Regions from separate parts of the Homo sapiens genome. Here region 2 is linked to region 1. Evidence: promoter capture Hi-C in human tissues and cell types (Jung and others, 2019). All regions are on one chromosome and are shown on one strand. Each heading gives the region's core, a stretch centred on a gene start or on the middle of the fragment in contact. The rest is flanking DNA. Distances are from core to core; before and after follow the strand shown. Region 1 holds the start of ITIH2 (inter-alpha-trypsin inhibitor heavy chain 2). Region 2 overlaps ITIH5 (inter-alpha-trypsin inhibitor heavy chain 5).

The links. The method cuts DNA at HindIII sites, captures the fragments that hold promoters and counts their contacts. A contact is called where the count stands out against the background at its distance.
Region 2: a fragment that was not itself captured here is called in contact with the fragment with the promoter of ITIH2 in region 1 in 2 of the 25 tissues and cell types used here (dorsolateral prefrontal cortex and pancreas).

The regions. Positions count from the first base shown.
Region 1 is chr10:7,700,790-7,705,855 of GRCh38, forward strand. ITIH2 (inter-alpha-trypsin inhibitor heavy chain 2) reads left to right here and starts at 2,527. Exons shown (of 21, transcript NM_002216.3): 1 at 2,527-2,729; 2 at 4,319-4,393. The coding sequence starts at 2,646. The HindIII fragment of the contact is 26,123 bases long and covers 1-5,066 here.
Region 2 is chr10:7,560,836-7,565,901 of GRCh38, forward strand. ITIH5 (inter-alpha-trypsin inhibitor heavy chain 5) reads right to left here. Exons shown (of 14, transcript NM_030569.7): 14 at 1-2,549. The coding sequence ends at 2,248. Among named protein-coding and RNA genes, the nearest start is that of LINC02642, 91 kb to the left of the region's middle. The HindIII fragment of the contact is 6,231 bases long and covers 1-5,066 here.

The DNA of each region.
Region 1 (5,066 bases), core at 1,277-3,776:
GGCAGCTATTGTTATACTGTCAGCTAAACCACAATGACTTACACTCAGTGATGAATCTCAAGTTTGTTGATATTTCCCAGAGTTCCCAATGAGTACTAAATGTTATCTCTTTGTTCAAACATTATGAAATATTGTGATTTTTTTTCTTGTAGATTTCCTACTGATTTTCACATACGTGAAAGTGAATATTCTTGTGGCATTTATGGTAGTGATTTCCATCCTAGAAATCAGTGGATATATTCAATTCACCACGTCACAGCTGCCCAGGCATGATGGGAGGGGTTGGCAGTGGGGTGGGGAGTGCAAGGGGAAAGGGTCTCAGGTTCAAGACTCAGTAGCCTGAATACACAGCCTACGCGGTCGTGCTTCTGAACATTGAGAGAGAGAGCAAATGTTGTTTTGTTTTGTTTTGTTTTCAAGAATTTGGGATCAGGCTGAGCACAGTGGCTCACGCCTATAATCCCAACACTTTGGGAGGCTGAGGCAGGTGGATTACTCGAGGTCAGGAGTTTGAGACCAGCCTGACCAATATGGTGAAACCCCATCTTTACTTTAAAAAAAATAATACAAAGTTAGTTGTGGTGGTGCACGCCCGTAATTCCAGCTACTTGGGAGGTTCAGGCAGGGGAATCGCGTGAACCTGGGAGGTGGAGGTTGCAGTAAGCCAAGATCATGCCATTGCGCTTGAGTCTGAGCCACAGAGTGACGCTCCCTCTCAAAAAAAAAAAAAAAAAAGGACTTTGGGATCTGAAGACAGAGTATCAGCATGGAAAAAAGTCCAGCCTGCTTTTGGTTTGGTTTATTCTGAGATAATTCTGAATATCAGATTAAAATAATCAGAAAGGAAATGATCAATGGAAGGAGGTATGATTTTGAAAGTCACTGCTGTTTTTGGGAGAACATGCCATTGGGTTTTTTATTATTTATTTATTTTTTTCTTTTGAGACCAAGTCTTGCCCTGTTGCCCAGGTGGAATGCAGTGGCGTGATCTCAGCTCACTCTAACCTCCGCCTCCCCAGTTCAAGCAATTCTCATGCCTCAGCCTCCCAAGTAGCTGGGATTACAGGCGCATGCCACCACACCTGGCTAATTTTTGTATTTTTAGTAGAGACGGGGTTGCACTATGTTGGCCAGGCTGGTCTCAAACTCCTGACCTCAGGTCATCCACCCGCCTCAGTCTCCCAAAGTGCTGGGATTACAAGTGTGAGCCACCGCGCCCAGCTGCCATTGGGTCTTAATTCTCCAGAAACAGTATCTCAGTCAAGAATGCAAAGCTGTGGCAGGATTTTTCCATGAGGGGTCCACTGAGGCACTCACTGGCCAAGGTGGGCGCTCAACTAGTCCAACCTAGGCAAGGGAGGGGAGAATCTGTTTTCTCCCTTCCATTATTTCAGAAGTTATGTTTCTCCAGCAGACACACGGCTGTGCAATTTCGAAGACTGAGGGGAAACTAGGGAGGAAAATGCAGAAAACTCTCTGTTGCATGCCCTGTGAATTGGGCTTTAAATGTAGCAAGGAGCTCCAGGATCCCAGAAGTTGGCCTGGGGTGCTTGGTCCTGAGGATAAGACAACCTCCCTTGTATTGTAATTCTGCCCACAGCTGGAGCTTCCTATTTCAGTGTTGCATCCAAGAAGTTACATTTCCTGTTTGTTGCAAGAAAAATAGAATCTGACCAGGATGGAGGCTAGGCATGGGGGCTCACATCTGGAATCCCAGCAGTTTCGGAGGCTGAGGCAAGCAGATAGCTTGAGCCCAGGTGTTCAAGACCAGGATGAGCAACATGATGAAATCCCATCTCTACAAAAAATAGCCAGGCAGTGTAGTGCACACCTGTAGTCCAGCTACTCTGGAGGCTGAGGTGGGCAGATTGCTTGAGCCGGGGGAAGTTGAGGCTGCAATGAGCTTTGATCTCACCACTGCACTCCAATTCTGAGACTGGGGAGTATTGATTTGCCACTGACCTGAGCCCGGCTGATAGGGGCAGCAGGACAGACACTGTTACCTTAATCAAAGACATTCACGAAGCATTCTCACTGAAGATCTGCCCTAGTATCCTGCACAGCCACTTGCCTGGGTCTTTATAGGTAACAGGTAGACAGTCATCAAAGAGATAGGGGAAAACATGCACAATGAATTCTTTGCTCAGAAAAACCCTTCTGTGTCTTCTCCCACTTTTTCTAAATTTTTCCTGCTTTCATTTAGATCAAAGGATTTTGTTTCTTGGAATAGTTCTGCACTTGGTCCTTTAGAAAGGATGACAATTATCTGTAGGTCTCTCTGATTTTAAGATCAATAGAAATCAGCAAAAGCCAAAAAATAAAAAATAAAAATAAAATAAAAGCACACAAGCACATTCAAGCACATCCATCTGCCCCTGACTTGTCCTCACAGTAAGCAACTGCTTCTGACTTTGCTGTTTGAATAACCTCTGGGTGTTCGATCCACCCACACAGCTCAAGTTTGAGCTCCAGAACAAATATTTGTCCCAATTTTGAACAAAGTTAGAGAGTTTTTTCTTCTTTTTTCTTCTTTCTTAAAGCGAACTGTACTCCTCTGCTGTTCCTTTGAACTTGGTTCAGTAGGAAGAAGTGATATCCTCCCCAGACCATCTGCTTTGGGGAGCTTGGCAAAACTGTCCAGCAAAATGAAAAGACTCACGTGCTTTTTCATCTGCTTCTTTCTTTCTGAAGTATCAGGCTTCGAAATCCCCATAAATGGACTTTCTGAAGTAAGTACTTACAGATCACTCCTTGCTGTTGGCTTGTTCATGAGCTCAGTAAATCATCTATTGGAATCGCTATTCAATGGCCTTATTCTGTGTGTAATGGAAACTTAAGATAAAATTCATCTGAGTGCAAGTGTTTACTGTTATAATTACTGGAATGTATATTTACCTTTTAAAGCATTAACAGGTTTTGCATGAAAATTAAGTCAAGATCAATGGGCAGGCATCAGAGCGTAGCATTTATGGAGCAGAGCTGCTCACTCCTCACCTAAAAAATTGGGGGTAAGAATAGACCTAACCCAATGGTTTGCTTTGAGAATTAAATGACACAGTGTAAACTCTTCTAGCAGAGCGCCTGGACTAGTAAGTGCTTAATAATTACTAGCTGTTATGATGATGAAGAAATATTATCACTCTTTTACTAAGAGTATAAGAAAAGTCATTATCAAAGCACACTGTTTTTCATATCTAAGTGAACAGTGATATTTGTAATAAGAGCACTTTAAGTATTCCTATTAAAGCGGAAGATAGCAGGCAGGGTGGAAAAGTACAAGAATAATTCCCATGGAGTACAGGTCTCCACTTTTGTCCCTTAGCCATCTCCAATGTAAGGAAAGTCTTGGACTGAAAGTCTGTTTCTGAAAGTCATACAAGAGCTATTTTTATGCCAGAAAAGCGAAGCATGTTATGGGAACATCCCAGCAAATGCAAAGGCTTATAATACTTGCAGAGTGGATTACCTATAAAAATGCCAGAGAATATGACGGCATATTTACAAAGGGAAAATATCACTCTGTCTGCTTTGAAACTATCATATTTTCCAACACTTAAAAGCCACCAGAGTGTGTTAGAAATCTCAAATTGAAGCCAAGACATCCAAATGTGTTTGTGCTTTTTCAGTCATTTCTAACTGGCATTTCCTTTTAGAAAATACCTACATTTTTAACTTGGGGAGATGTATGGTTCATGTCTGTCCAGTCAGACACTGCAAATGCCTCCAGGGTCTACCCAGATACTTCCCCAGACACCCACCTAATCACTGGGTTGTTTTGATCTCTGTCTTACCACCTGCTGGCAAACTCAAAAATGAATTCCCATGTCCAACAAATGCGAAGGTGTTGTTACCCTCCATTTGGACACCTCTGAGACGTAACCAGCAAATAGAAATATACTAAAGAAATCATTTTATACAAAATTGTGATTGCCCAGAGGTAGAGGAAAGAATATAAAATAATGAATACCAACAGCTATCTCTTTGGCTCTAGATCTTTTGGAAATCATCATTCTCAGCAAAGTAACACAAGAAGGGAAAACCCAACACCGCATGTTCTCACTCATAAGTGGGAGTCGAACAACGAGAACACATGGACACAGGAAGGGGAACATCACACACTGGGGCCTGTCAGGGGGTGGGGGGCTAGGGGAGGGATAGCATTAGGAGAAATACCTGACGTAAATGATGAGTTAATGGGTGTAGCAAACCAACATGGCACATGTATACCTATGTAACAAATCTGCACGTTGTGCACATGTACCCCAGAACTTACAGTATAATTAAAAAAAAAAAAGTTAAAATCCTAATTTTTTTTAAGTTTGTAGACTATGAAGATCTTGTGGAACTGGCCCCAGGCAAATTTCAATTGGTGGCAGAGAACCGGAGATATCAGGTATAGTAAGGTTTACTCCCAAAAGGGGGAAAAAAAGTGAAAGAGATTATGGCAGAAGAAGACAAGTGTTAAGATGCCTTCTGCTAGATTTTCTTAAGAGTTTGTTTTTTAGCACAGAAGAGTCCAGACTTCTTACACCTTGGTGGAAGAGATCACCCAGGTGAAATAAAAAGAGAAACTCACACAACTGCTCAGCAGCCTTCACACCATAATGCTCAATTTAGTCCCTTAAAGAGTACACGACTCAGCACAGTGGCTCCCACTTATAATCACAGCATTTTCAGAGGCCAAGGAGGGAGGATCACTTGAGGCCAGGAGTTCCAGATCAGCCTGGGTAACATAGTGAGGCTCTACCTCTGCCACCCAGCTAATATATATATTAGCTGGCATGCACCTGTAATCCCAGCTATTTGAGAAGCTGAGATGGAGGATCACTTGAACCCAAGAGTTCGAGGCTGCAGTGAGCTATGATTGCACCAGCCTGGGCAACAGAGGGAGACGCTGTCCCCACTCCATTTAAAAAAAAAAAAAAAAAAAAGAATACATGGCTATGTGTTTTCTTCAAAACTTAAGATTCCGAAATTATTTCCTGCCTTGCCGGAAGGATTTCCTGTTAGGAAGACTTTTCTTATTTTAGCGATGACAGACACTCCCCCTTGCAGCCTCACAATCT
Region 2 (5,066 bases), core at 952-3,451, 140 kb before region 1:
AATGATTCTGGAGGTTCAGTGTAGCCCTGCATTAAGTATGTTGTATGACTTGGCAAAAACCACTCCACGGCACTCTCTGCCTCAGTTTCCCTATCTGGGAAGATTTTCTGGACAACAGAAAATACTATATTTTTTTTTTATCAAATGCAAAGGTCCTAACTATAAGCTTGGTATGGGGTTTCGGGCTTTCAGGTACTGACCCCATTTGAAAAAAAAAAAAAAGATCTACACGTAAAGAAGAGGAAGAAAAAAGGTGATATTTTTCTAAAGTAAAATATAATTTTTAAAAATGAAAGCTCAACTTTGTTACTTATGTTTTTCTGAGCAAGCAAGTTAGCTATGGATAGCTCATTGGAATGTTTTTCTCAGCTCTTAAAGTAGCAACACAGGCAGTAGGAACTGGTCTTTCCTAATAACGTCCTCATTTCTGCAGTGTCGAGACTTACACCTGGAACAACAGATCACTGCTCCAAGTGCTCCACAGGGGACAGGGCCACCTGGCTCCAGGGCTGTCTGTCCAGCTGGGATTTACATAATAGGAAGGCCCCGGGGAGCCTGGCCAGCTCCCTGGCTACCTCTAGCTGCCGCTCCCTTTCTCTGAGCTCTACAGTCTGAAAGCATCTGTCAGCAGCACTGGCTGGCAGCCTTTGCACCTCTGGCATGAATACAGGCAGCTGAGGTTGGGAAGACGGAAGGCAAATAAATAGCACAGCAGACAGGCCCTGGTGTGGTGGGTTCACGAAGCAGAGAGAGACGAGCCCAGATAGTCCCCCAGCGCTAACTTGTTCCCGAAGCCGCTGCGTCCGACAGGAACACGTGGATGTCATTTTACTGCCTGAATGTTTCCCCAGGGAAGGCAAACATGATAAAGAATTTTCTTAACTCAGCTTTTCCTCCCAGTGCTAAGCATGCCTTCTCATTTCACGCGGGGGCTGCTCTGGTGTCAAGCCCCGTGGAAGAAGCCTCTTGTGAGGCCAGCCCCAGAGCCTTGAACTCTGGCCTGCATCGAAGCATTCCACTTCCCCGACCACAGTCTTTCTTTCTCTGCTGTTTCGCCCAAGCGCTCCCGGTATCCGTCCGCTGAAGGGTGACGTTCATTGACTCTGGAAGTCCCCTCTCATCTTAACCTTTTCCTTAAGGCATCAGGTTTGTCCAAGTTTTGGAACCAAAGCCCCTGTCCACGAGCTGGTTTCCTGACTTTTTTTCTATCTGACATGAGGGAAGCTGGAAGTCCTAGATTTCCTAAGCACCGACACGCTTCCTGCTATAGGTGGGCTGGTGGACCTGCTCTGAGCCGGCTCTGCCTCCCGTCCTAGCACTGTGCACATGTAATTGATCACCTCCTGGATGACCACAAGGAAAAAAGGTCTGGGAACTATGACAAAGGCTGGAGAGCTCCAAGTAAAAGATGCATCATTCACTTGGCCAACTCTTCGTCACCAAGACATGCCAGTAAAATCAACCACATGGAGTTGTCCTGTGTATGAAAAGCCCTTAGCTTATTGGAACAAATTGGAGAATAGCCATTAGCAAAGTCAAGTGGTTTACAAAGCCCATTAGAAAGAGATCAGTATCTGAGCTGTAGATGTTTCTATTTTCAATCAAATTTCTTTTTAATGAAAACTAATTTTTAAGGGCAAGATACCACAGCAGAAGAAAAACGTCTTGCAAGAAAAGACTTCATGGTTTACAACGATCAAATGTATGGGCTATTTGCCTGATTGGTGGCCTGGACTCAGCAAGAGATTCCTTTGCAGCAGAGGTTGGCCACACATCTGGGGGCTGCAACACCACTGAAAAGACAGCTTTCTAAGCATTAGTGTAAGGCAAAAAGCAGAGTGCCTAAACTTGTCCATTTCCACCAAGAAAAAAAGTTTCATAGCAACCTTCCTTCACCAGAAAGGCTTACTTTATGATATGCTAACAGAACAGAAAAGCAGGTTGGGACAAGATACAGACTTTGTTGCATTTAGCTATGACCCTTCTCTCCCCTCTGTGGATGTGGGCAGGGTGGGGAGAGGCAGGAAGAGGCAGTAGAGGGAAATGACATTTGCACTCAGGCTTCCCGCCCCTACCCACCCCTACCCTTCGCCCAGACAGACGTCGGATCTATGCTGCACCAGGGGTGGGTCATGGAGTCCAGCTAATTGCCAGGAGCTGAGGCGTGTACAAGCCATGAAAAGAGCTGCCCCACGGCCTCCCCACATCACTGTCCTTCATGCACTTGCATCTTTAAGGCTGCCAGCTTCAGAGCTCCCTGGACATTCCCCGGCCAAGTGTCATCCCTGTGTCAAATGGATGGGATGCCAGGTAATCCTTGTACTCCCCGTCAATCAGTTTGGCGGCATTGTTCCTGGCAAACCAGCAGTCTATCTGCTCTTCCCCGTTGTAAATCTTCCTTTGCTTCCAGACCACTGGGACTTGGTGGCCTTTCACTGTTAGGACGGCCTCAGGCCCCTCTCCCACCTGAAGGAGCAGAGGGTGAGTGAGGTTCTGGCTGGGCCCTGCAGGGTCTTCTGTGAGTCTGGCATCCTGATTCAGGAACTGACCTGGGAGGACAAGGAAAAGCATCGGGTCTCAGTCAAATGCAGAAACCTCGTGCTGAACTCCAACTTCAGAGCTATCAGTGGCAGAAAGGCTTACAACTGGCCACAGCCCGAGACTGGACTCTCCCAGTGACATGGAAGAACATGTGCTCTGGGGGGCAGGGTGGAGAGAGCTGAGGATTTATCCACATTGTGGGATTTACCCATGACTGCTGGAAGCTTCCCAGCTGCTAACACTAGAAAGTTGTGTAACCTACACATAGTGATAACCACGGTCTCCTACTGAGTCCAGAGGACAGGACGGGGCATATGAAGAGGGAAGTAGTGTTCCATCTTCTCTCTGTCCTCTTCCCAGTCACAGGCCCGCCTCCTTTCTATCCGTCTCAGGTCTGTGCCGGGTGGGGGTGGAAAGCAGTCAGCTCAGATCCTCTCTGACCCTCGTCCTCAGGACTCTCCTGGTCAGATGGCAGCACTGCTCAGGCCACAGGAATAAAGAGCTGTGTCTGCAAGGGGAGCTCATGCTGGGCCGCCAGGCCCCACGAAACGCGGCCAGCTCAAGAGCCAGGAAATCCTGCCTACTAAACTGAACCCTGACAATGGCTTGCTCTTTATTTTTGGGCAAGGGGCCCACATGAAATTACACGTTGAAGAAAGCTGGGTAGAATGGCCCGCCTGCTGGGCACGGCCACGTGGGTGCCCCCCCGGTGGGGGTGTCGCTCAGGCTGGGCGCTGGGCAGGGCTGCCTCGTGTCTGTGTATTCTTGCTGAGAGCAAAGGAACTGGACCCTCAGGTGACTACATTTTAATTCCTCATTCATTTTTCCAGAAGGCTAAAGAGAACTACTGGTTTATAAAGCCCATTCCTAGCTCACAAAGCCCAGGAAGGAATCTAATTTTCATATTACATATGTAGTAATCTAATGTTCATATTACATATATAGTAATCGAATTTTCATATTACATATGTAATTTTCATGTTACATATATAGTCATGCACCACATCATGACATTTTAATCAATGATGGACTGAAAATATGATGGTGGTCCCATAAGATTATAATAGCATATTTTTAGTGTACCTTTTCTATGTCTAGATATGTTTAGATGAACAAATACTTATCATCGTGTTGCAATTGCCTGCAGTAGTCCATGCAGTCACATGCTGTACAGGTTTGCAGCCCGGGAGCAATAGGAGACACCACATAGCCTAGCTGAGTGGGTAGTATGCGACACTATCTAGAGAGGTTTGTGTAAGGATATTCTAGATGGTCACGTAATGACCAAATCACCTAACGACCATTAGAATGTATCCCTGTCATTAAGCAAGGCATGACTGTGTGTGTCGGTGGGTGTGAATATATATAATATGTACATACATACACAGACTGTGTATGTGTACACACACACATATATACAGACTGTGTGTATATATACACACACACACCATAGACTGTATACATACATACATATATACATACATACACAGACTGTATATGTATACACACACACATACATACATATACAGACTGTGTGTGTATATATATATATATACACACACCATACATACACAGACTGTATACATACATATACATATACACACACGTTCATACATATAGACTGTATACCTACATATATACATATATACATACATAGACTGTATATATATATACATATATACACACATAGACTGTATATATATATATACACACACACACACACATACATATACAGACTGTGTATATATACACACACCATACATACATACAGACTGTATATATAAACACACATACATACACAGGCTATATATATATATATACACACACATACACACACATCATACATACATATATACACAGAGTGTATACATACATATACACATATACACAGACTGTACATATATACACACACCATACATACAGACTGTATATATATATACACACACACATCACACATACAAAGATGGTATACATATATATATACATACACAGACTATGTATGTATATATACACACATATCATGCACACATACATAGACAGTATACATACATATATACACATAGACTGTGTATATATACACACAGACATACATATGTACATATACAGACTGATTATATATTATGTATATGTGTGCATATATAGACTGTATATATACATACTTATCAGTCTGTGTATACATATATACATACAGACGGTATATATAATACATATATACATGTATATTTATAATATATAATACATTATGTATATGTATATATGTATAGACTGTATATATATACACACACATACATATACAGACCATATACACATACATATACAGACTGCATATATAATATATATTATGTATTTATATAGAGAGACTATATACACATATGCAGTCTGCATGTACACATATGCATACATACAGACTATATATAATACATATATACATATATATGTATAGTATATAATACATTATGTATATGTATATATGTATAGACTATATATATGTACACACACACATACATACATACATATGCGGACTG